Linked DNA regions of Homo sapiens: region 1 is linked to region 2. Evidence: promoter capture Hi-C in 16 types of primary human blood cells and fetal thymus (Javierre and others, 2016). All regions are on one chromosome and are shown on one strand. The core of a region is centred on a gene start or on the middle of the fragment in contact, and the rest is flanking DNA. Distances in the headings are between cores, read along the strand shown. Region 1 overlaps MBTPS1 (membrane bound transcription factor peptidase, site 1). Region 2 holds the start of MEAK7 (MTOR associated protein MEAK7).

Region 1 (2,700 bases), core at 79-2,578, 420 kb before region 2:
TCCTTTTTACTATCTATATGTATTCCATAACATCATGTTGTATATCTTACATATACGCAGTAGGATTTGTTTTTTGTTTTTCTTTTTTAAAGTGAATCCCCAAGGAAATGGAGGATATATGGCAGGGAAATATCTTACTATTTGTTCCCTGCCTGATATTTATGCTTGCTTGGATATAAAAATCACAGTTCTAGCACATAAATGGGATATTAGAAAACAGAACACAAACATAAAGAAACAGGTTATTTTGCCTATCAGCACTTTGTTTACTTAGGCTTATAAAGTGTGTTCACATTCACTTCATCTAACTATAAAAGAAGTGACTCCTACCTCTTTGCAGAGATGAAGAAGGAGAGACAGAGCAAGGCTGTGAAGGGCCTAAGCTCTCAAACCCAAGACAGGGCAGAAGCAAGACACGACTCCTGCTCTGCTGGCACCGAGTGCTCCTGTCCTGACGTGGGAGCTACTGGTCTCTAGGGGGCAGCACTCACCTCACTAACAAGGTGACAGCACCTGCAACCACTGGAGAAGCAACACTGGTCCCTGAGAGGGCCCGGCACCCCCCTTTCACGCCAGAACCCCGCACGCCAGCACCATAGGTGACAATGTCAGGTTTCATGCGACCGTAGCCTCCTGGTAGCTCCTATGAATAAAAGCAGCTTGGTTGCTACATCTCGCACATTGGCATACAGCCGCATGCAATCATGAGTGAATCAAATCAGAACAGAGATATGGGTTAGTTAAAAACTGTATAACCTTAGGAAGGTACTGGTTTTAGTCTGAAATTCACTCCAGGCCAGGCGCAAGGCTCACACCTGTAATCCCAACACTCTGGGAGGCCGAGGCAGGTGGACTGCTTGAGCCCAGGAGTTCCAGACTAGCCTGGGCTACACAGTAAGACCCCCATCTCCACAAAAAATACAAAAATTAGCCAGATGTAGTGGCACAAGCCTGTAGTCCCGGCTACTCAGGAGGATCACCTGAGCCCGGGAGGTCAAGGCTGCAGGGAGCCGTGATTGTGCCACTGCACTCCAGCCTGGGCAACACAGTGAGATCCTGTCCCCCTCAGCCCCGCACCCGCCCCCCCCCCAAAAAAAAAGAGAAAAAAACAAAGAAATTCACTACAATACAGAAAATAAGCTTAAACGATAATGTAGAAAGTAAATTTTTAAAAATATATTTTATAACAACCAGAACAATGGCAAAGGCATAAAGCAATTAAAAGATAAGTATTTTAATTTTGCTGACATGCCAGACTGGAAAGTGGACACTGGCTTATCACCAAGACCAGAAACTGGAAACTGCTTTATCTCTAGATAAGTTAAAATTAGAAATATGTTAGAAAAATTAGAAAATTAAAATGTAAAAAAACCCAAACATGTTTCTTTACAAGGAAAAAAGTACACGGTATGAGTGGATGTTTCAAACGGTTGTAAAAGAGGAAATAAGAAACCACTGAGAAGGAACAAGATAACCACACGACTAACTTGGGATAACGTTTTAATAAGTACTTGCTTAAGCTTCTTAAGAATTGGGGCAAAACGAAAATTAGAATAGGATCTCATATTCTGTCAGAAAACAGGAGCCCAATTTGAAGGGAAGCCCTTTTCTGACCATCAAACCCAAGGACCATGGATGCACATACTGGGATACCGAGTAAAGGCATCCTCCACTGCAGCTGTGATGATGGAAGGACATTTCTCAAATGCCATTAAAAAGCTGGCTGGTGATGAAGGCCATGGACGTGACATCTCATCACGGTTTGGTGAAAGCGTTTACACGGGGAGCTGGGGACAAAGTGGATGACATCTCACCACAGTTCGGTGAGAGCATTTACACAGGGAGCTGGGGACAAAGTGGTGGATGCAGTTTCCCATTATCCGGCAGCACAAGGAACATGCTGAGGGAGCGTGGATGGGAGGACACGCAGCCTGCCCTGCACAGACTGTCACATGAGAGAATGGTCCCCAGCCAACAGGTCAGCTCCAGGAAGAGGCACGTGAGTGTGGGAGGCGGGGACCCCTGGTGGGGCTGAGTGGCGGGGACGCTGGGGGCTGACGCTGTCACAGGACAAAGGCTCAGGCAGAAGGCTATCCTGTAAAGTGGCTACAGTGTGGACGAGGCCCACAGTGTTCCCAGGCAGTTGGGAATCTTTCCAGGGACTTATCTGAGGCCTCCGAGTGTGGCATGTGACGTTAAACACCAAGAGATGCTCTGACCCTGAAGAATGAGAAGGGCAGATGCTCCCCTCGGCCACAGCGAGGGCAAAGGTGCCCAACTGCTGTTCTGCACGAGCGTCTAATTTTTCATCAAACTTTGACAGGTAAAGGTGGGTGAATGTGCTGCATAATTAAACCCCAAACAGCTGAATTATTAACTGTAGCAGTTATTTTGAATTTGTCCAGCTAAATACAATTGTTTCTGTGTTAGCAGAGTTGATATTAAGCTGTTCTCAATGGTTTCTCCAACTTCTTAAGGCTCCCCTCCCCCAAAAAATATCATCTCACCTACCACTGAGGAGGACTGCTTACCACTACTAGATAGGGTAAACGGGCAGGAACCCAATTCACCTAAAGGTGAGTTCCTCAGAAATCAATTAATAAGTTAAACTGGGAAACACCGCTTAGAATCAGCCGGTGCTCATCACAGCAGCTGTGGACTTGCCAGAGTGAAGTGGCAGATGCTGACGGGGCCCAGATC
Region 2 (2,700 bases), core at 61-2,560:
AACTGCTAGGTAAGCTTACCCAGAATCCACCCTAGCGCCCTGATGTTTCCTCAGTCATCTTCCATCCACTGATCCCCACCCTGCTTCCTGGCTTCCCACTTGCCCATGCTATAATCAGAGTTGAGCCCAATCTCTCTCCTTTACTACAAAATCCCATTGCTGTGGTCCCTATACCCATTGCAATGGTCTTCAATAATTAATGTGCTTTTAATAAGCATCATTAATTAATTTCTTTAACATAAGGTTGAGAAGATTAAATAAGGTAACCCAGGGCATTTGATCTGCTTACTGGAGGTCAGAGACAGAATAATGGGCCCAAGACAACAGAGAATGGCTCCTTGGGATCTTGTCTTAGAACAAGAGAAACTGCCCTGCTTGGAAGAAACGGAAGGTTGCTCTGCCTCCGTGATGGAGGGGTGGACAGGGACCGATTGTCTGCAGGATGGCCCCCAAGGTTCCCACTAGTATCCTAGGAATGGCTTAGTCACCTCCTGCTCAGAGCTTCTCCAACAGGCTGTTACATGGCTGCTTCCCACCCTGGCTGCCAAGCTCCAACTCTCTACTCCAAGGGCCCCGCATCCCTAGAGCCACACAAGGGTCCCTCCGTACCCCCACAAGCTGGGGAGATTCCAACTGCCTCATCTGGACAGGCTTCGAAGTCCTGTCTGTGTCTCAGAGCCCAGAGGCCCTTGTGCGAAGGGGCAGCTTGAGCCTGGGCAAGAAGTTCCTGTGGGCCAGAAGGTGACCTGTCCTGTGCTGGCCACCTACATGGCCTGGGAACAGTTATCAGCTCACTGTCCTGGAAAAGCCCAGATGGGTGTGGTCAGAATACAAGAAGGAAAACCCCCTCCACACACACTTCAGTGTCTACCCCAGACTCGCCTCCTCCGTGGAGGCACCCCTCCCTTTCCGCGTCTACACAGGCTCTGAATCCCCCTTCAACACGGCTGGCCTTGGCCCTGGGGGAAGCACCTCGCCACCCTCTTACCTTGACCACATAAACAGCGGGAGGTGCAGGATGATTCTGATCCCCCCCAGGAGACCCTCCCTCCATCCCGCCCCGCTGTCCCCACCCCTCACCTCCCCGCAGCCTTCACCTCTCCCTCCCCCGACCCGAGGGCCTGAAGAGGCGTGGGAGGCCAGGGAGGGGCAGGGCCCAGGCCTACTCTGGACCCGTCTGCTCCAGTCCCCCGACTCAGCTGGGCCTGCGCCTCTGGGTCAGCTCACTGCGAACCTCAGCCCAGGTACCTACCCTGCCGGGCTTCCTGGTGCTGTCCGGTCCGGTCCAGCAGCCCACGGGCTCCTCTCGAGAGCCGCCCCTTCCCTGTTGCCAGGCAACATTGCTGAGGGGCAGTCATTTGGTCCAATCGTGGAAGCGGAGGTGTGGGGCGGAACCCAAGAGAGGAGTCAGCCAATGGTGACGCGCCTCACAGGGAGTGAGCCGAACCCGGTGGGTGCGGCTCGGGGCGGGGCCGCGGTCTGCGGGAGGAGCGGCTGCAGGCCCGGGAATCCGGCCCGGCTGCGTGCGTACCAAGGAGGCGCCTGGAGAGGGCGGCCAATGACTCAGGCCAGGCCAGGCCAGCAGTGGTACCTGGGGAGAAGGGGTGTCTGGGCTGGGCGCTGGAGCGGAGTAGCCAGGGTGTGGGAGATCCTGGGGGAGAGGCTGAGCTTGGGGGTGAAGACACCCGGGGGAGGAGAGTGGCCCATGTGGAGCCCATGCAGAGGCCTCTGCAGTGCAGCCTCCTGGGCCCCAGGCAACTCTCCCCTGACTCCCCGGCCTGCTGGTCCTGGCCTAGAGCCTCGGGTCCGCCTCCCCTCGGGCCTCCCTCTGCCAGCTGCCCCTGCCTCGCTCTTCCCTGGCACCAGGTCCTTCCCGGCAGCCATCAGGCGCCAGCTCCACAGCCTGGCTAAACAGACTCCCTCCACCCCACGTGCGCCTCTTCAGCCGGTTCCCGTTCACTCCAAGACGTCTGAACCTGTCACCCCACTTCTTCAGCTCGTTCCTTCTCAAACCCACCGAAACCTGGTCCCGGGGGCCTGCTCACTACATCCGAGGTGCGCTTTGGGTCCTCGCAGGCAGCATTTGGCGCTTGGTGATCGTGCTCTCATCAGACCTCTCTCTTGGGCACCCCGGCGCCCATTCCTGGCCCTGGCTCGCTCGCTGTCCCTGGTGGTCTTCCCTGGGCCCTTCTGGCTTCTGCCCTGGAGTTTCTCGACTTCTCCCTACTCTCTCCACCCCACGCATCCTCCCTGGGGTCCACCTTCCTGCAGATTCAGCTCCCGCATGTCCATGGTACCAGTTCTCTCCCCTGCACGGCCTGCTGGTTTTCCAGCCTGGAAAACCGTGACTTCGCCCGCCAACGTCCGCTTGAGTTGGTCTCGAACTCCTGACCTCAGGTGATCTGCCTGCCTCGGCCTCCCACAGTGCTAGAATTGTAGGGGTTAGCCACTGCACCCGGCTGGTCACCTCTTATTCTTTAAGCTGGAACAAAAATAGAAGGCTTTCTGCCTGAGGGCAGCAGGCCTGGCTGGTGACAGTGCACAAGGTAGGGCCCCTCACCAAGACATTGCTCTGAGATCCAAGGCCAATGTCCCAGGAGAAGCAGCTCCACAAACTAACGCATCTACAGCCAGGGTACCCCCAGCTGTGGATGCCAATGACACGAGTAGCCCCAGCTCTTCACCTCGGCTTCTTAGAGT

The links. The method cuts DNA at HindIII sites, captures the fragments that hold promoters and counts their contacts. A CHiCAGO score of 5 or more calls a contact.
Region 1: a contact is called between a fragment that was not itself captured here and the fragment with the promoter of MEAK7 in region 2, in 1 of 17 cell types (fetal thymus). The highest score is 5.0, in fetal thymus.

What each region holds. Positions count from the first base shown.
Region 1 is chr16:84,084,492-84,087,191 of GRCh38, forward strand. MBTPS1 (membrane bound transcription factor peptidase, site 1) reads right to left here. Exons shown (of 23, transcript NM_003791.4): 10 at 492-643. Among named protein-coding and RNA genes, the nearest start is that of MBTPS1, 31 kb to the right of the region's middle. RefSeq lists a silencer at 440-489. The HindIII fragment of the contact is 380 bases long and covers 1,139-1,518 here.
Region 2 is chr16:84,503,349-84,506,048 of GRCh38, forward strand. It overlaps MEAK7 (MTOR associated protein MEAK7), which reads right to left and starts at 1,311. Exons shown (of 8, transcript NM_020947.4): 1 at 1,253-1,311. LOC124903736 (a long non-coding RNA gene) reads left to right here and starts at 1,454. Exons shown (of 2, transcript XR_007065149.1): 1 at 1,454-1,587. RefSeq lists enhancers at 721-1,221, 1,342-2,289, 1,652-1,771 and a silencer at 1,052-1,101. The HindIII fragment of the contact is 3,004 bases long and covers 13-2,700 here.